7 separate regions of the Homo sapiens genome follow, and all the other regions are linked to region 2. The links are contacts of gene promoters, found by promoter capture Hi-C in blood cells and fetal thymus (Javierre and others, 2016). All regions are on one chromosome and are shown on one strand. The core of a region is centred on a gene start or on the middle of the fragment in contact, and the rest is flanking DNA. Distances in the headings are between cores, read along the strand shown.

The links. Contacts are between HindIII fragments. The CHiCAGO score rates a contact against its expected background, and 5 or more counts as called.
Region 1: a fragment that was not itself captured here is called in contact with the fragment with the promoter of HTR6 in region 2 in 1 of 17 cell types (non-activated CD4 T cells); the score reaches 5.2 in non-activated CD4 T cells.
Region 3: a fragment that was not itself captured here is called in contact with the fragment with the promoter of HTR6 in region 2 in 8 of 17 cell types (total CD8 T cells, megakaryocytes, total CD4 T cells and 5 more); the score reaches 7.4 in total CD8 T cells.
Region 4: a fragment that was not itself captured here is called in contact with the fragment with the promoter of HTR6 in region 2 in 3 of 17 cell types (naive CD4 T cells, naive B cells and total B cells); the score reaches 5.7 in naive CD4 T cells.
Region 5: a contact is called between a fragment that was not itself captured here and the fragment with the promoter of HTR6 in region 2, in 1 of 17 cell types (fetal thymus). The highest score is 5.6, in fetal thymus.
Region 6: a fragment that was not itself captured here is called in contact with the fragment with the promoter of HTR6 in region 2 in 4 of 17 cell types (non-activated CD4 T cells, neutrophils, naive B cells and 1 more); the score reaches 5.8 in non-activated CD4 T cells.
Region 7: a fragment that was not itself captured here is called in contact with the fragment with the promoter of HTR6 in region 2 in 5 of 17 cell types (total CD4 T cells, naive CD4 T cells, naive CD8 T cells and 2 more); the score reaches 7.1 in total CD4 T cells.

What each region holds. Positions count from the first base shown.
Region 1 is chr1:19,299,379-19,302,078 of GRCh38, forward strand. LOC124903867 (a long non-coding RNA gene) reads left to right here. Exons shown (of 3, transcript XR_007065521.1): 2 at 2,500-2,700. Among named protein-coding and RNA genes, the nearest start is that of AKR7A2, 11 kb to the right of the region's middle. The HindIII fragment of the contact is 8,280 bases long and covers 1-2,700 here.
Region 2 is chr1:19,663,542-19,666,241 of GRCh38, forward strand. It overlaps HTR6 (5-hydroxytryptamine receptor 6), which reads left to right and starts at 1,334. Exons shown (of 3, transcript NM_000871.3): 1 at 1,334-2,700. The coding sequence starts at 2,213. RefSeq lists a silencer at 1,148-1,377 and enhancers at 1,156-2,128, 2,129-2,700. The HindIII fragment of the contact is 8,359 bases long and covers 1-2,700 here.
Region 3 is chr1:19,324,936-19,327,635 of GRCh38, forward strand. It overlaps SLC66A1 (solute carrier family 66 member 1), which reads left to right. Exons shown (of 8, transcript NM_001040125.2): 4 at 560-647; 5 at 1,310-1,452; 6 at 1,596-1,688; 7 at 2,292-2,477. Among named protein-coding and RNA genes, the nearest start is that of SLC66A1, 14 kb to the left of the region's middle. The HindIII fragment of the contact is 2,420 bases long and covers 104-2,523 here.
Region 4 is chr1:19,161,674-19,164,373 of GRCh38, forward strand. UBR4 (ubiquitin protein ligase E3 component n-recognin 4) reads right to left here. Exons shown (of 106, transcript NM_020765.3): 33 at 2,580-2,700; 34 at 2,091-2,154; 35 at 747-938; 36 at 154-224; 37 at 1-63. Among named protein-coding and RNA genes, the nearest start is that of UBR4, 47 kb to the right of the region's middle. RefSeq lists an enhancer at 1-277. The HindIII fragment of the contact is 701 bases long and covers 1,005-1,705 here.
Region 5 is chr1:19,202,417-19,205,116 of GRCh38, forward strand. The region is part of intron 1 of UBR4 (ubiquitin protein ligase E3 component n-recognin 4); the gene reads right to left. Among named protein-coding and RNA genes, the nearest start is that of UBR4, 6.5 kb to the right of the region's middle. RefSeq lists an enhancer at 1-422. The HindIII fragment of the contact is 2,944 bases long and covers 1-2,700 here.
Region 6 is chr1:19,282,476-19,285,175 of GRCh38, forward strand. AKR7A3 (aldo-keto reductase family 7 member A3) reads right to left here. Exons shown (of 7, transcript NM_012067.3): 4 at 2,543-2,639; 5 at 2,211-2,310; 6 at 1,521-1,650; 7 at 98-417. The coding sequence ends at 256. Among named protein-coding and RNA genes, the nearest start is that of AKR7A3, 4.9 kb to the right of the region's middle. RefSeq lists an enhancer at 1,152-2,027. The HindIII fragment of the contact is 2,847 bases long and covers 1-2,700 here.
Region 7 is chr1:19,183,438-19,186,137 of GRCh38, forward strand. It overlaps UBR4 (ubiquitin protein ligase E3 component n-recognin 4), which reads right to left. Exons shown (of 106, transcript NM_020765.3): 15 at 1,662-1,849; 16 at 579-738; 17 at 374-459. Among named protein-coding and RNA genes, the nearest start is that of UBR4, 25 kb to the right of the region's middle. The HindIII fragment of the contact is 2,852 bases long and covers 1-2,700 here.

The DNA of each region.
Region 1 (2,700 bases), core at 201-2,700, 360 kb before region 2:
TGAGCCGAGATCATGCCACTACACTCCAGCCTGGGCAACAAAGTGAGACTCTGTCTCAAAAAAATAATAATAAATAAAAAATAAATAAAATAAAATAAAAAATCGATGCCCCCTCCTCCTTCAGTCTTTCATACAGCACAGAACAGCTTCCTTAGTTTGAGGATGATTAAATATATGAGATGCTCTCCAGATCCAGCTCTGCTTCTTTAGATTTTTTTGTTCCTTCTCACTTACTTATTATTTTTTTTTGAGACGGAGTCTCGCTCTGTCACCCAGGCTGGAGTGCAGTGGCGCAATCTCAGCTCACTGCAACCTTGGCCTCCTGGGTTCAAGCAATTCTTCCACCTCAGCCTCCTGAGTAGCTGGGACTACAGGCACCTGTTACCTCGCCCGGCTAATTTTTGTATTTTTAGTAGAGACGGGGTTTCACCATATTGGCCAGGCTGGTCTTGAACTCCTGACCTCGTGATCCACCTGCCTCGGCCTCCCAAAGTGCTGGGATTCCAGGCGTGACCCACTGCGCCTGGCCTCACTTATTTATTTTTTAATTAACAAATAAAAATTGTATATATATTTAAGGTGTACAACATGGTGTCTTCAAGAATCTCTTTAGATATGAAATTGCTGAATTCAAGAGACCATCAACTATGAGATATAGTATCCGGAAGATTCTAACGGATGGGATGTGACATAGCAGAAAATGCATCTCTGATGGGGATAGTCAAGACACAGTCTCCTGGCAGGTCCCGGGGCTCACCTTCTCCACTCAGGACTGTTGCTCCAAGTGTTACAGTTTATTTTCCAAAGATAACCACTCCATTCTCTCACGTGCTCTTTGCACAGGTATCTTTGACTCTCCTCCCAGGACACAAGAGTGATGTTATGGACTTCTGAGGCTGGGACATAAAAGGCCACATGGCTTCTGCCTAGTTTGCCTGGGATGTGCTCCCTTGGAAGCCACATGCAGAGGTCACGTGTGTGCCGGTTGATGACAGCAGCTGATATTCCAGCTGGCCCTCAGCAGCAACTGCCACATGCTTGAGTGAATGTCTTCAGGCAACCCTAGCCTCCAGCTGCTAGATCACCTCTGAGACACTGAGGAACAGATGAGGCTTCCCTGCTGAGCCCTGCTCTAACAGATTTCTGAGCTAATTGATTGTTTTATTACATATTATTGAGGCACTATATACAACTGACCCACTTAAAGTGTATAATTTAATGGTGTTTAGTGTATTCTGAATTGTACAACCACCACAGTCAATTTCAGAGCATTTTTATCACCTCCCCAAAAGAAACTCTGTACTCAGTAGCAGTGAATCTCCATTTCCTCCCAAACTCCCTCTCAGTCCTAGGCAACCACTCATCTACTTTCTGTGTCTAATAGATTTGCTTATTCCAGATACTTCATATAAATGGAATCATACAATATGAGGCCTTTTGTGACTGGCTTCTTTCACTTAACATGTTTTTAAGGTTCATCCACATTGTAGATGTTTCATACTTAATTCCTTTTTTTTTTTGAAAAATGTTCCATTGTACATACAGATATTTTGTTTATCCATTCACCTATTAAGATTGACATTTGGGCAGTTTCCACTTTCTGGCTATTATGAATAATGCTGCTATAACATTCACGTAATTTTTAATAAGGACATATATTTCTTTTTTTCTTTTTTTTGAGACAGAGTCTCACTCTGTCACCCAGGCTGGAGTGCTGCGGCAAGATTTCGGCTCACAGCAACCTCCGCCTCCCAGGTTCAAGCGCTTCTCCTGCCTCAGCCTCCCAAGTAGTTGGGATTACAGGTGTGTGCCACCACGCCTGGCTAATTTTTGTATTTTTAGTAGAGATGGAGTTTCACCATGTTGGCCAGGCTGGTCTTGAACTCCTGACCTCAGGTGATCTGCCCATCTCGGCCTCCCAAAGTGCTAGGATTACAGACGTGAGACACTGCGCCCAGCCTCATTTCTTCTAGGTATACCTAGGGAGTGAAATTTCTGGGTCATATAAATGCTTAATCTTTTGAAAAACTGCCAGAATGTTTTCCAAAATGGTTGCACCGTTTTACAGTCTCAATGGCGGTGTCCTAAGTCTCCCATTTCTCCAAACCCTCAACACTTGTTATTTTCTGTATTTTATTGACTCTGATGATCCTAGTGCTTAGCAGATTTGAAGGGGTTTTGATTTGCTTTTCCCTGATAAGTACTGATTTTGAGCAGCTTTCCATGTGGTTACTGACCACCTGTATGCCCTCTGGAAAAAGGTCTATTCCAATAATTTGCCCATTGTTTAATTGGGATTTCTTTCTTTTCTTTTTTTTTTTTCTTTTTTGAGGTAGGGTCTTGCTCTGTTGCCCAGGCTGGAGTGCAATGGTCTGATTTTGGCTCACTGCAGCCTCCACCTCCTGGGCCCAAGAGATCCTCCCACCTCTGCCTCTCGATTAGCTGGGACCACAGGTGCCCGCCACCATACCCGACTAATTATTTTGGTATTTTTTGTAGAGACAGGGTTTTGCTGTGTTGCCCAAGCTGGTCTTGAACTCCTGGGCTTAAGTGATCCGTCCGCCTGGCCTCCCAAAGTGCTGGGATTACAGGCGTGAGCCAGTGCACCCAGGTGGGTTTTCTCTTTTATTAAGTTGTAAGAGTCCTATAGCTAGAATAGATACAAGATTCTTAACAGATATGTGATTTGCAAAATACTAT
Region 2 (2,700 bases), core at 84-2,583:
GAGCCTTCGATTTGGAAAGTATTATTTTTCTGTTTCTGTGGAGAAAAAATGATCCCACCCCGTTCTCTTTATACTACATTTTCTTTTTCTCTTTCTCTTCTTTCTTTCTCTTTCTTTCCTTTCTCTCTTTCTTTCTTTCCTTTTTTTTTTTTTTTTTTTTTTTTTTTTTGACAGAGTCTTGCTCTGTCACCCAGGCTGGAGTGTGCAGTGGCACAATCTTGGCTCACTGGAACCTCTGCCTCCCAGGTTCAAGCAATTCTCCTGCCTCAGCCTCCCGAATAGCTGGGATTACAGGCTCCCGCCACCACGCCCAGCTAATTTTTGTATTTTTGATAGAGACGGGGTTTTACCATGTTGGTCAGGCTGGTCTCGAACTCCTGACCTCAGGTGATCTGCCCACCTCCGCCTCCCAAAGTGCTGGGATTACAGGCGTGAGCCACCTCGCTGGGCCCACTTTCTCTGTTGATTATGCTTATTGTTTATTGTCTGTTTCTTCCACTAGAATGTAAGCTCCATGGAGGTGCGGATCTTTGTTTTGGCCACTGTAGTGTCCTGATGGGTCAGAACAGTGCCTGACATCTAGTGGATGCGCCTTAAAAGATGCATTGAAGTATCTGTTCAATGAATGAATGAATAACAGTATTAACCTGCACAGCAGTGTTAGGCAGAGACTCTTCTCAGCCAGAGGGGAGACGTACAGAGGGAGGTCACACCCAGGGGAAACCACACCCCACGCCTCTGCCTGCAGCGACTCTTAACACACCTGGCCTGGGGATTCTCAAATCTGTTCACGCTCTGTTAGACTAGGAGCGCCAACAGCTCAGGGACTTCATCCTTAGTACCTGGCCCCTTTGGGGATCGGGATGGTTTCTGCGGGAAAGGCCCTGGGGAAGGTTAGCTTCTTGCTCAAACTAACGGTGAAGAATGCCCAGAATTACTAACCCATTTTACAGATATGGCAACTGAGGCCCAGAGGGGTGTCAGGCGATTTGTCCAATATTTCCCAACTCCTGGCTCCCCTGAAAGCCCGGTGACCCCGTTGTGAGTGGGCAGGCACCCATTAGAGAGCAGCCCCTGGATAAGGGCAGGTCACAGCCCCCTGCTCCCAGTTCCGCCTGCGCCGCCGCCACGTGTGGGTTGGGAGGGGCATCTGAGGGTGTGGGGGCTGCCACAGCCCGGGAGGTGACCCCTCGCAGCTGGGGCGCTCTGATCTTCGGCCCACAGGCCCGGGGTGCCGGGACCCCGCCCTCCTGCAGGGCCAGGGCTCGGCTCTCCCCGCCCACCGCGAGGCGGGGCGCACGCTCCGCGGCGCGGGGACCGCGCGCTCCAGGCTGCACCCGGCCTCTCCTCCGCGCGTGCGGGCCCCTCGCGGCGCCTCCCGGGCTCGGGAGACCCGGTCCCGCCGCCCGCCCGGCCCGCGGCCGCCTCTTCCTCTCGCAGCCCCGCGGCGCTTGCCGCAGTCGCAGGCGGCGGAGCAGCCAGAGCGCCCCAGGTACCAGTGCGGGCGGGAGACGGAGGCGACCCTGCTGCCGGGTGGGGAGGGGGCGCCGCGCGGCCGCTGCCCTCCTCTTCCCGCGGGGCCTGGCGGCCCCGGCGAACCCCCGCGCCGCACAGGCCGTGTGCGCCGGATCCCGGTGCCTCCGCGCCAGCTGAGACCTGCCTTTCCCAGGGGCGGCTTTGCTCCGGCCCCTAGGCCCCCGCCCTGGTACCCCACACGCCCACCGGCCGCGGGGAGCCTGCTCCGGCCCGAGAGCGCCCATTCACCCCCCTCACCCACCTCCCCGCGTTCCCACTTCCCCGCACTCTGACCCGGCCGGACGCCCCTCCCCTATCTTGCCGCCCGCCCCCTCCAGGGGGCTCTGCTCCCACCCCAGGGAGCCCATCCGACCTCTGCTTGACTTCCCGCCGCTTCCTTCAGGGGCCTCGGCTCATCGGGTGCCCCTCCCCAAACTTCCAACCCGTTTGCTCCAGGAGTTCCTGCCCCATCCCCGAGGGCGCCCAAATAGCCACACTGTGTCCTCCTGTAGTCGCTGCCCCCTGACCTAGCGCGACCCAGCGCCCCCGCCCATGTCCCCCCACTCACCTCCCCCGGGGGGCGTGGTGAGTCGCGGTCTGTTCTCACGGACGGTCCCCGTCCAGCCTGCGCTTCGCCGGGGCCCTCATCTGCTTTCCCGCCACCCTATCACTCCCTTGCCGTCCACCCTCGGTCCTCATGGTCCCAGAGCCGGGCCCAACCGCCAATAGCACCCCGGCCTGGGGGGCAGGGCCGCCGTCGGCCCCGGGGGGCAGCGGCTGGGTGGCGGCCGCGCTGTGCGTGGTCATCGCGCTGACGGCGGCGGCCAACTCGCTGCTGATCGCGCTCATCTGCACTCAGCCCGCGCTGCGCAACACGTCCAACTTCTTCCTGGTGTCGCTCTTCACGTCTGACCTGATGGTGGGGCTGGTGGTGATGCCGCCGGCCATGCTGAACGCGCTGTACGGGCGCTGGGTGCTGGCGCGCGGCCTCTGCCTGCTCTGGACCGCCTTCGACGTGATGTGCTGCAGCGCCTCCATCCTCAACCTCTGCCTCATCAGCCTGGACCGCTACCTGCTCATCCTCTCGCCGCTGCGCTACAAGCTGCGCATGACGCCCCTGCGTGCCCTGGCCCTAGTCCTGGGCGCCTGGAGCCTCGCCGCTCTCGCCTCCTTCCTGCCCCTGCT
Region 3 (2,700 bases), core at 64-2,563, 340 kb before region 2:
TCACTGCTCTTCTCTGGGCCTCAGTTTCCCCATCTGCAATATGAGCATGTCTAACAGGAAGGTTTCGGGGTCTTCCACCTCCAGGGTGCTGGAGTGCTGGCGAAGCTTTCAGAGGGTGGGCCCCTCGAGGAGAAAGGGAGTTTTTCCGTGGGAGGCCCAGATGCCATCCTGCTCCTGTGGGCAGGCAGAGCTGGGGCTCCCAATCAGGAAGGCATTGTCTTCCCATGTGGGACCAGAAAGTTCTGACTGCCCTGGTGTCAGGCCAAACCAGAGCCATCACTTCACCGCGGAGTCCCACTTTGTCCTGACTGCTAGCGCTGACCACCAGCTCATTGGCCCCTCCTGGGCTAGATCCTTTCCTGGGTCTTTCGCCCACCTGTTCTGTCATTCTGCCAGGTGGGAACTGGGAGTTCTTCCTTGCCAGATAAGGAAACAGAAGCTCAGAGAGGAGAAGTGACTTGGTCCGGGTCACCCAGCTGGGATATGACAGAGGGCTGCCGGGGCGTGGTCTCAGATCCTGGGACTGCGCCAACCCCTGGGCCCCCTGCATCTCTTACAGACCTACACGGCTGTGTATTATGTCTTGGCAGACCTGGTGATGCTGACGCTGTACTTTTACTACAAGTTCAGGACGCGCCCCTCTCTGTGTGAGTATGGGGACCGCTCTCTGTCAGATGCTCTACCAGCAGCAGGGGGCAGTTGTGGGGGGGGGCGCCTGGAGTGTGGGAGGAAGCGGGTTTCCCATGGCTGGGTGATAACCCAAACCTCGGAAAGCCTTCCCCGGGCCTTATCTAAGAGCCTGAGCCTTAACTGGCCAAGATAGAGGCTTGAGGGCAGTGAGCGCGTCCTGGCCCAGACCACAGGCCGGTTCCTCTCGCCCAGGGGCTCATTCAGCAGACACAGCTCCAGCTCCTCCTCTGTGTCCGGCCCTGGGCTTGGAGCTGGGGAAACGAGGGCAAGTCACACAGGCTGCCTCTGCCCCAGCCTTCAGGAGGAGCAGGAGACAAGGTCAGCTTGAGGCTATACAGACACGGGGAGGGACCTGGGGAGGAAGTTGTCTCATCAGCGTTCCTGCTTCGTGTAACCCCCTCCTGACCTCCCTGCCCTCAGCGTTTCACCTTTATAACTCTAGGAGAAGGGTACTGTTGTTGTACCCATTCGACAGATGAAGAATGAAAGCTCAGAGAGGTTAGGTCACTTGCCCAAGGTCACACAGCCCCTGAGGGGCAAGGCCAGGACTTAGCACCCTCCCCCGACAACCGCTGCCACTCAGCCATCTAACCTCAGCTTCCCCCTGCCTTGTGTGCAGTGTCTGCCCCCATCAACTCCGTGCTGTTGTTCCTCATGGGGATGGCGTGCGCCACACCGCTGCTGAGTGCTGCTGGGCCCGTGGCTGCCCCTAGGGAAGCCTTCCGGGGGCGGGCGCTCCTGTCCGTGGAGTCGGGCAGCAAGGTGAGGCGTGGGCGTGGCGGTCGAAGGGATGGAGGCTGGCTCATCCCCAGGGCTCTCCCCTGCACAGCCTCATGGGTGCTAAATGGGGTGGGGGATCACCTCTGGCTCCTACGAGACACCAAGTGCCCCCTTCTGCCCCACAGCCCTTCACCCGGCAGGAAGTCATTGGCTTCGTCATCGGCTCCATCTCCAGCGTGTTGTACCTGCTTTCCCGGCTGCCTCAGATCCGCACCAACGTGAGCCTCCAGCAGGGGCTGGGTGGGGCCGAGTAGAGGAGAGCTGGCCTGGCCACCCGGGCCCTCTGGGCTAAGGAGTAGCACAGCATAGGAGCCTTGGTTCAGAAAGTCTGGTCTACTCCCGCTGTTGGCTTGGGCAAGTTAATCCAATCTCCGAGCCTCCATTTCTGCTTCTGGAAAATGGGCGTGGCGTGGCCTGCCAGCCAGGCTACAAGAGGCCCATGTGTGTCTTGGGGGAGTGGGAGGTCAGGGGAAGGTGAGGGGCTGAGCTTGGAGGCCTGAGGGGAGAGGAGAAGCTGGGGAGTCGGGGAGGGGAGGCTTGCTGGGCAGCTAGAGCCTGTGTGGGGTGGAATGCAGGGTGGTGTGGGGCCACAGGCCTGGCACAGCCACGGTCTCCCGTGGACCTGGGCAGGGGCCTGGGGGGGCTTGTCTGTGGGTGGGAGGAGGCTCTTCTGTGTGTCGGGCCCATATCCCTGGGCACCCAGGGAAAGATTGGCTCAGAGCAGGTGCACTGTGGTGGGGCAGGTGGACATGTGGACAGTTACAATCCAGAGTGACAAGAGGCCTGTTCGAGGTCTCTGACCTGACCTCCTCCTGCCCCAGTTCCTCCGGAAGTCCACCCAGGGGATCTCCTACTCTCTGTTCGCGCTGGTGATGCTGGGGAACACGCTGTATGGGCTGAGCGTGCTGCTCAAAAACCCCGAGGAGGGCCAGAGCGAGGGCAGCTACCTGCTGCACCACCTGCCCTGGCTTGTGGGCAGCCTGGGCGTGCTGCTGCTCGACACCATCGTATCCTTCAGGGCGTGTGGGGCAGGTGGCGGGGTGTGGGCAAGGAAGCTTCTGCCTGCACACAGCGTCAGCACTCATCCGTCTCTTCCTCCCTTCATCCATCCGTCCATCCATCCATCCCTCCCTCCCTCCCTCCCTCCCTCCATCTGTTCACCCAGTCGTGCACACCTCCTGTGTGCCAGGCACCCAGCTGGACCCTGGAGCCGTGAGTGAGCAAGAACAG
Region 4 (2,700 bases), core at 105-2,604, 500 kb before region 2:
ACCTTAGCACACACTGTGCAGACACCCACGCCATCCACCATTTTACAGGTGTGACAGTGGTACCTACAAAGAACAAGAACCAGCAAATAAGCTCAGAAGTCCCAACAATCGGTGCCCAGCAAATCTTCACCTTAAAGGAAGAACTACCCTTACCAATGCTGGTTCATGAATTCTTTCTGTGTGATCGTAAAAGTGCAGAGTTTATTGCAAAGAGAATCTTCATCCTTCAAAAATAATAAGTCTTTTTAATTCGAAATATATCCCTGCATATAAACACCCACAAAAACACATGTGCCTCAACGCCCTATGGCGGGGTGAATAGTTGACTCGCAAATGACCCGTGGAAATCTACCACAACTGGAAATAGCTAGCTGGCTGAAAATCTGTTGTTACTTCAGGTGAGTGAGATCTTAGGGGTTTGTGGTTAAGAAAAAACATCTTATGCTTTCTCTATAGGGGAGCTTCCACTACCCCCCATGAAGAACTTATCCCTAAAATTCCATTTGGAATTAAAGACTGACAAAGCAGGACAAGTGACTCTGGAAAAAGCTTATGAAAAAGTCCTTTCCACAAGAGATTAGATCCCCATGCCTTGCTCTGAAGGCCTAGAAAATTGGGGCCTGGCAGCAACAAGGACTAGGAAGTTTTGAAGCTCACAGGAGGCTGGAAAACAGAGCCAAAAGCTTGGTACCATGCCAGTTAGTCATTACCTTGAGAGGTTAACTTCGAGGTTACTTAGTACTTACTGAATCCTCAGCCTGGGAATCTTCCTCTTCCACCGCCAACTCCTCCACCCAGTCTGAGTCTACTTCAATGGCCCGCTCTTCCCCATCCACTGAGAGATGACTTGGGCCTTGACCATTACTCTGGCTCAGGGCATTCGTGACATCAGCCAAGTAAGACATGATATGGCATGTGCACTCCAAGATCATCACATGCTGTAAGAGAAGCCCCACAGCAACTTCAGATTCTCCATGTTTCATTATGTAAACCATGTTTTCTCAAGCTTTTTCAAATAAAGCTCAAGATCAGAGAAATGGTATGAGAGCAGAGAAGAAAAACAGTGTGTTTTTATTTATTAACCAGGTTTTACCACTCCGTCCCCACGTAGCTGGTCAGTAAATTGTACTGAAGTAACATGTATTCATTCATTCTTAGGCACAAAGACAGCTCTTTACAAAGTCTTGTAAGATGAAGTAGGATTGAAATTAGAAGAATAGAGTAAAAACTGATTAAAATCATTCAAGAAAAGACCAGATTAGAGTATGAAGAGACTCCCATTAGCATTTCCCCCCTAACATTAGCATTTTTTAACCATTAAGTGAAAGTCATTTTAATTATCAGGCTTTAAAGTAATGCAGGAGAGGAATACCTTCAGAAATCAAGAGAAAAAAATTCTAGCAAATCATTGCAGATAGTTCATGCTTGCCTAGAAAACCCAATTAATTGGCATCAAAGACTCAGATTTCTAAGTTCCTTTGCTCTGCACTCTGACATGTCAGTGCTGAAAGGATAAAGATCAGCAAAAAAGGAGGGAGTAATGAATGGTACCAAAGTGGTTCTCAGAAGCTAGTTATCTGTTCCTAGCCACCTATGCCAGTTCATGGGTTGGGCAGGAGGAGAAAATGCCTGAATGCAGGATTTCTGTCAGTTTCAAACCGCTTTTCTTACCAGAGTAACCAGAACCTTCAGGCAAATTAAACAAAGCTTAGCATCTGGACTAGAGCTGAGGAGGCTGTATTTGGCCTTTTATAACACTGACTCAGAGTGGCACAGTTCCAAAGCCTGAGCAGGGAGACAGTTTCCCATAACATTCCAATATCTTAGGATGGCAGGAACTCTATGTTTTAAGAAAGATTCTGTCTGCTTATTTACCAGTATATTTCCTTCCCATCACTTCTTGCCAGCCAAAACATGCCTAAAGGCACACAGTTAGCAACTACATATTTCCAGTCTTTGAGATTATCAGCCTTATCCTTGGTAGGCTAGCCAGGCACAGAACTCAATAGGAACGAGAGACTTCCACCTGACCACAGAGGTGAGAATCACCTTTCCCTTCACCCCCCATTGTCATTCCTCACTTTTCTTACCTTTCCATGCATTACATTGGCATTCAGTTTTTCAACTACATTCTTCTGTGACAGGTATTTCTTGCTGTCCCAAAGAAAAAAAAGAGGGGAAAGAGGAGACACAAAATCATCGAAGAAACCAACGAAATGAGGCATCTTCATTAACTTTGAATCAATCTGAGGACACTGTGAAGCAGAAGCATTCTTAGAAAACTCCATAAGTACTATATAGTTACATAGCTTGGGGTGCTCTGGCCTTAGAATTATCATTAACACTTGGCATACTTTCCCCAAGAATTATCTTGGGAACAATGAACAGGAAACTCTACTAAGAAAATGATGAAGATGAAGTCTAAAGTGAACAGAGCTATTTGCTACCCACCCAACTCCCAAACTCCAATGAAAGGGTAGAGATTCAAATTTCTTCTGTACTCACTTTGAGCTATAAAGAAAGTAACCCACTTCTCAAGATCAATGTTGTAACCTACAGATACAACTTCATCATCTTACCATCTGCTCAGCCAATCCACAGCAGCATTATGAAGCTGAAGGTGACCAGCACCTTGACCTGCACTGGCCAGAGTGGCCATCACAACCATAAGTTCAGGGAAGCCAGTCCCATCACCGTTGG
Region 5 (2,700 bases), core at 20-2,519, 460 kb before region 2:
GGCAGACCAGAATACTCAATATACTGTTAGTGGGAATACAGACTAAAGTAACCAATTTTAGACCAAATAAGGCTGGCCTGTAATGCAGTAACTTAAAAGGAATCAACAACTCAAGATAAGAAGTCATATGATCAGTGCTAAAGTCCAAAATTCACTGGATAACAGAGTTATCCCCTACACCATCCCCCTGACTGTAGACTAAAGCGAGATCACAAAAGAGTCGGTGATTTTTTTTTTTAACCACATCCCTTATCCTTAGCTGGGGAAATGCCCTCTTCTGAAAAAATCTAGAGACCAACTAGGTTTAAAGGCTGGATACATTTAAAGTCATTGTATCAAATCAGGTGCTAATCCACAATTGATGAAACATGGGCCGGGCACGGTGGCTGGCCGGGTGTGGTGGCTCATGCCTGCAATTCCAGCACTTTGGGAGGTCCACGCAGGTGGATGACGAGATCAGGAGTTCAAGACCAGCCTGGCCAAGATGGTGAAACCCTGTCTCTACTAAAATTACAAAAATTAGCAGGTGGTGGCACGCGCCTGTAATCCCAGCTACTCAGAAGGCTGAGGTAGAGAATTGCTTGAACCCAGAAGGTAGAGGCTGCAGTGAGCCGAGATCGGGCCACTGCACTCCAGCCTGGGTGACAGCGAGACTCCGTCTCAGAGAAAAAAAAAAAGAAAGAAACATGAAGGTAAAGCAAAGACTAAAATATATTTTATTAAATGGAAAGAACAACAGTGTGGTTGAACAGTTTACTTAGTGAGTCAATCCCCAGCAGAAGTATCAACCTATGGTGGGACGCATTGTAGCTGGTGGCTCAAGCCTGTAATCCCAGCAGTTTGGGAGACAGAGGCTGGTGGATTATCTGAGGCCAGGAGTTCGAGACCAGCCTGGCCAATATGGTGAAACCCCGTCTCTAATAAAAATACAAAAATTAGCCAGGTGTGGTGGCACCCACCTGTAGTCCCAGCTACTCACGAGGCTGAGGCACGAGAATTGCTTGAACCCGGCAGGTGGAATTGCAGTGAGCTGAGATTGTGCCACTGCACTCCAGCCTGGGCAAAAGAGTAAGACTCCAACTCAAAAAAAAAAAAAAAGTATCATCCTAAGAAGGGAAATGTAAACAGAGTGAACACTCCATTCACTGCCTGCAAGACTATCTGCCTGCCAAATGAACACAGGAGCCAAAAGGACAAGTCACTATTTGGAAGGTGCCAATGTCGGTGATGAATCACCTTGAATAACACTTGAGAGTCTGGCATTGCGAGCACTTTGCTATATGCAGATCAAGGATAAATGGGTATGTATCAAAGATTAGTCCCTTAGAATAACTCCTTCACCAAGAAAAAAATATTTATGGAGCATCTATGATGTGTGCAAGGATCCTCCTGCCCACTAAGGGTCCTTTTCCATTTGTCAGGGTACATAAAAAGGAGAAAATAAAAACCTTTCCACAACAAGCAGCACTCAAAAGTTGCTGGTGACTAAACACAGTTTTAAGGCTCACATGTACAGCAGAAAACTCCCTACTAAATCCCCCTGTTTCTACCTCATATACTTAGTTTTTCCTTTACTTCCAGCCTTATACTTTATTTTTTTGAGACAGAGTCTCGCTCTGTCGCCCAGGCTACAATGTAGTGGCACTATCTCAGCTCACTGCAACCTCCACCTCCCAGGTTCAAGCGATTCTCCTGCCTCAGCCTCCTGAGTAGCTGGGATTACAGGTGCGTGCCACCACGCCTGGCTAATTTTTGTATTTTTTTTTTAGTAGAGATGGGGTTTCACCATGTTGGTCAGGCTGGTCTCAAACTCCTGACCTCGTGATCCACTGCCTTGGCCTCCCAAAGTGCTGGGATTACAGGCATGAGCCTCCACGCCTGGCCCCACCCTTATACTTTCTTATTTGTTTTTCTAAGGCTTTCCCACTCTGTCATTTGATGTTATTTTACTGGGTTTATTTCCAAAGTTCCTGATTTATTTCCAAAGTTCAGAGCTGCTTATCCCCACTTTTTCCAGCTGAACAGGTTTACCAAATCTAAGAGAAATACTGCCCACCCAAAGGATGGACTTAGCCTATTGCTTTCATACCCATTCTGATAATGAAATATATAAAAAAAAATATATATATATATAGGAGTAAACTCATTTAATTGCCTGGTTCAGTGTCATCCTATTGTGATCTAATGAACCCAACTTCCTCCCCTAGAAATACGTAACATCCTTATTCCAATAAAGAAACAGGAAGAATGCATTTTGGGGAAAGATAGACATTGGCAGAGGAAAAATGGAACGGTCTTCAGCTCTACTTATAATGTGCACTGGGCAACTAAGGATAAACCTGGGAAAAATTGGTTTTGAAGACTTGAAGGAGGAAATAGAGAAGTAATGGACATTGTCATATCTCTTGATTTTAAAGAAACAGTGTGCATGAGTCAGCTAATAGGGATGTGCTGCCATAATTTCCAACCTCACCCTCATGCCCTGAGAAAATGTTAAGACACCAAGACACCAGAGAATAAGAAATGGAAAAATGGAACAAAGGACAAAAAGTTAAGTAGGAAGGAGAAGAATGAAGAAATGGAAGCAAATATAAGCACGGGAAGGAAAATAAAGAGATAGAGGTGAAAGTACATCTTTGCTCTGGTTGGTCAAGCATCTTCCTGAATCACCTGTCGCTCCTAATGAACTGCAACAACAGC
Region 6 (2,700 bases), core at 117-2,616, 380 kb before region 2:
TGCAGAGTGGTGAGCCAAATAAACCTCTTTTCTTTATAAATGACCCAGTCTCAGGTATTCTTTTATAGCAACGCAAACAGACTAACACACAGCACCCTGGGAGTTTTATTCTTCATTTGGTGGTGACTCTTCTATTAGGTTTTTGTCCAAATACTTCCATCCCTAAGAATTTACTGAGGCAGTTCTAAATTAAAGAAAATGTGAGTAACAAAAGATGTTACAGAAGAGCCTTGGGCAGCCTGAGAAACGATGGGCCTAGCGGAAGTAGTTGGGACATTCGTGAGTAACCAAATGCCAGGCTTGATTAAAGGCGTCCACGACAGCCGGCTCCAGGGGCCCTTCCTCTGCCGCTGCCAAGTTCTGCTCCAGCTGCTCCAGGCTGGACATGCCCAGGATGACCGCGTCCCCGTGGGCACCCTGCAAGGGAGACGGCCAGACTTCAACCCTCTTCTGCTGCACAGCGACTCTACTCACAGCCGTCCCAGCCACCTCCCTGCTGAGATTTGGGATCTCTTGTATCCCATATGTCCAGAAAGAACTTAAGGTGCCTTGGATAGCTGTACCCATGTGACGCAAAACCTGTATCCCTTCCCCTACTGCCACACGACGCTTCCAGACAGACCTACATTCACAGCCCAGTTCTGCCCCCCAGCAGCTGTGTAAACGCGGCTAAGTTATTAAACCTCTCTGAGATTCAATCCTCTTTTCTATTTTCAACATGGTTATGGGTGTGAAAAATTATGTAGAGCACTTAGCTCCCATTTATTGAGCACCTACTGTATATATGCCAGACACTATTGCAACATCTAAGGCTGGAGTTGGATATAAGTGAGGAAGACATGAGGCACTGAGAGAGGGAAACTCCAGCTCCCACCAAAAGGATGAGACTAGTGGGCTTTACAGTTAAACCTGTGTTAAAATGTCTGCCCCTTTCATAGCTGGGTGAAACTCAGTTTCCTCGTCAATAACACTGGGATAGTCATTTCATAAAGCTGAAGGAATAATGAAATCCCTGCAATGAAGCTCTCATTACAAAGCCTGGCACTCAGATACCATCAAAGACCAATGAGAAGGCCGAGCGCAGGGGCTCACGCCTATAATCCCAGCACTTTCAGAGGCTGAGGAGGGCGAATTGTCTGAGTTCAGGAATTTGAGACCAGCCTGGGCAACATGGTGAAACCCTGTCTCTACTACAAATACAAACAATTAGCTGGGCATGGTGGCGCACGCCTGTAATCCCAGCTACTGGGGAGGCTGAGACAAGAGAGTTGCTTCGGCCCAAGAGGCAGAAGTTGCAGTGACCCGAGATCATGCCACTGCACTCCAGCCTGGGTGACAGAGTGAGACTCTGTCCCCCCAAAAAAAAAACATAGAAAAAGACCAGTGGGAAGAATGTTTGTGAGAGTTGAAAGAAAGAGAAATTTCAGAGGAATCGATAAACAAATGTTTCAGCCTTCATCTAAAGATATTGCTGGTTCCCCTGGAAGGGAAGAAGCTGAGCGCACAGGGTCACTGGTTACCTGCAGCTGTGAGTGGTGGTACATCCACCGGAGGGTGGCCGAGGTCATGCTGGGGGCGCTGGCGCCATACGCGGCCTGCAGGGCCTTCTCCACCAGGGCAATGCCCTCAAAGTGGTGCTCCTTCCAGTAGCTGGGAAGGGGGGACGGTGGCACAGGTGTCAGGGCCACATTGGGAGCCACAACCAAAGAGCCAACCAGGGCCACTGTCCCACCCCACACCCTGCAGCCCTGAGGGGCAGGTGTTCTCTCTAGCCATGGGTCTCCCACTTTGCTGGGCAAGAGAACCACTCAGGATGCTGGGCCCCTCAGCAGAGACCTCAACAAATCTTTATTCCTGAGGACTCATCAGCCTGCTCTTATTTTCCTTAGGGACACAAAGGCCGCTAAGATGGGTCAGGACTCAGCCCCAGGCCTCCTGGACCTCCCTCCAGAGCTCCTTCTTTCCTTCCTAGCAGGTGATTGCTCAGGAAAGAGCAACGACTTCAAGACCCCGAGGTCCAGGGAGTCTCCTTTCCTCCTGGAGGTCCCAAGACAACAAGAAAACCGATGGAGGGTTTGGAAATTCCCGAAGAAATTCAGGGGAGTAGGTGCAGCAGCGAGGAAAGGCCTTACCCCAGGAGCAGCCCAGGACTTCATTCCACATAAAGCTGACCCCACCCCAGCCATCCACACCAAGCACCCACAGCTTACCGATTCCTGTACATCTCTGCCCAGGTATTCCCAAAGAAGCGGCCCACGGGCTGTTTCCCATTCTTGTCCTCATACTTGTACTTGCCGGTCAGCAGGCCCCCTGAGGGAAAGCAGCAATCAGCCCCGGGGCCTAGAGTGCCCCAGAAGCTGCCACATCCCTCAGGGCTCTGGTCTAGGGGAGGGGCAGGGACCCAGGAGGGCTGAAGATGCAGCCTTTACGTCTTTGACCTCAGAGGTCAAAGTTTGTCAAACCCTCCTTGCTTCCCAGGTCCTGGGCTGGGCATCTGTGGGTCGGGAATAGGCTGAGACAGGGCCAGGAATGCTCCACGTACCAGCCAGAGGGTTGAAGGCATAGAACCTCAGTCCAAAGTGCCTGAGGCAGGGGAAGAGCTCCGTTTCCACCTGCCGGGTGATGGCATTGTACATGCCCTGTAAGGAGAGGGGCCCCGGGGGAGAGGGTGGATGTGTCAAAAGAAGAGACTTCAAAATT
Region 7 (2,700 bases), core at 32-2,531, 480 kb before region 2:
CAGGCCGGGCGCGGTGGCTCACGCCTATAATCCCAGCACTTTGGGAGGCTGAGGCGGGCGGATCACCTGAGGTCAGGAGTTTGAGACCAGCCTGGCCAACAAGGTGAAACCCTGTCTCTACTAAAAATACAAAAATTAGCCAGCCATGGTGGCACACACCTGTAATCCCAGCTACTCTGGAGGCTGAGGCAGGAGAATCGCTTGAACCTGGGAGGTGGAGGTTGCAGTGAGCCAAGACCGTGTCACTGCACTCCAGCCTGGGTAACAGAGCAAGACTCCATCTCAAAAAAACAAACAAACAAACAATTGGAGCTGCAGCCTATGGAAGCTGGTGTCATGAGCTCTTGCCTAGATGGTCACAGCACACACAAACCTGCAGGTTAGGTGACTGAAGGTCAGAGGTTACCAGTGAGTGGTTGAAGTGATAGAGAGCTGCAGCAAACTCTTCATCTGATGAACCTTAAAGACAAGTAGAAAAGCCAATTATTTAAGCAGCTATTGAATGCACCACACCTCCCTGCCAACAGCCAAACTCCATGAGAAAAAAAATCCATCAGGCACATATCTTGTCTACTGACCCTTGAGTCCATCTTTGTCCACCTCCTTGATGATACTGGCTAGGGTGGCCATATGGTGTTCTGAAAGAGATACACTCAGATAGTTTCGGATAAAATTGTTCCGAGAGTTCAGCATGGAAGAGGTGATGAAGTTCAAAATGTTGGAAGCCAGACCTAAGAACTGAAAGGAACACACACAAAAAAGCTCTTATCAGGGTCATAAGCCCAGCGTTCCTATAAACTCTGATTACAAATAGAAAATAAAATATGCTCATAGGTATCCTGCAATAAACACAATGAATGAAAGAATCAGATTTTAAATCACTTACAGTGGGCCTAAGTTTCATTATGAGTCTCTCTTTCCCACCTAATTCTACTTACACAAAATGGCATTCCAGTTTAATATAACAGATGTTACAAAACAGTGTATGAAAACAGGATTTCCAAATAGACTGACCCATTTCTTTTGTTCTCCTAAGGTCCTTTGTCCGGCTCCAATTCACTACTGATATATTCAATCCTGAAGCCTATATGAATGATTATTACACATATATAGAATTCCTAGCTCTTCTCTATTAAAATTAAATTGAATTATTGTATAAATGTTTTTTGTCCACATCCTTGACTGTAAGCTATATATATGAAGGCAAGAACTGTATCTGACTCACTCACATCATCAGAACGGGGACTGACACTTACTAGATAATACTAGTTGAACCAACAGTTCAACCACAGCAAGCACTGATGATATATCAGACCTATGCTAAGCACTTTATAAATAGTCTCTCTTTAAGATGTCACAACACCTTTAGATGCAGGTACAATCACTCCCATATGATAGGAGACAAAACTAAGGCTAGAAAAAATTCAGATTCTTGCCCAAAGTCACAAAGCCATTAAGTGATTCTAAAGGCCAGCAGAGAAACAGTAACAGTCACGTAAGTTATTTAATGACACATAATCAAGACATATAAGTCCTAAGCAAAAATATCTTTAAACATTACAGTTATCCAAGCCACAAAATGTTTGCATTCAAATTATCTGCTTCTCATACCCCTAGCTCCCCATGTCCACTTCCCCTAAACCTTAGAAACCTACTCTTACCAACTCAGGATCTTTGCGACTCGCCAGAATGTTGCCCTTCTCACCAGGGGCCTGCTTACTGGGGCTTTTAACCCGAGGAGAGCTTTCCAGTGGAGGAGGTGGGGGAGGAGGCGGAGGTGCTGCTTTCTCTTTACTGGGAGAAATAGTCTCCTCAAACCATTGCCCCAAAATAGGCTCACTGTCATCGTCTGAATAGAGAAAGATAAAGTAACGAAAATAAATATTTTTTAAAAGTGTTTTTGGTGCATCTGCTTCCTAAAAGTACTTAAGTCAAAAGGAATACAAGGATATCCCAATTGTGATGATGGTTACAAGATTGCATTTGTGTATCAAAACTCATCTAAATGCATACATAAAATAAGAGCAAAACTGATCATCAATAACTGATTCAAATGTTTGGATAGATTCAACCCGTTAAGAATTTCTCACATTATTGCATGTAAATTATACCCCAATAAAACTGATTTCTTTTTTCTTTTTTTTTTTTTTTTTTGAGAGGGAGTCTCGCTCTGTCACCCAGGCTGGAGTGCAGTGGTGCAATATTGGCTCGCCGCAACCTCCACCTCCCAGGTTCAAGCGATTCTCCTGCCTCAGTCTCCCGAGTAGCTGGGACTACAGGCTACAGGCATGTGCCTGGCTAATTTTTGATTTTTAGTAGAGATGGGGTTTCACCATATTGGCCAGGCTGGTCTCGAACTCCTGACCTTGTGATCTGCCCACCTCAGCCTCCCAAAGTGCTGGGATTACAGGTGTGAGCCACCGCGCCCAGCCAATTTTTCTTTAAGGAGCCCAACAAAGAAAGAAAAACAACTTCACATTATTTTACTGGTAACAAGCCAAATATTTTCAAGAGCGAATTTATACTTGCCTTATCAACCATAAATCACAGGACGGTAAGAATCACACCTCCCTTCGTATTTCACATTGTTCCCACAAACCTGATTATGAAAGAATCTGAGGTACTTACCTTATTCATTCTCTCATCAAACTAAGGCAGGAGGGCATGCCAGTGGGTTCACTACAACAGGATTAGGTTTCT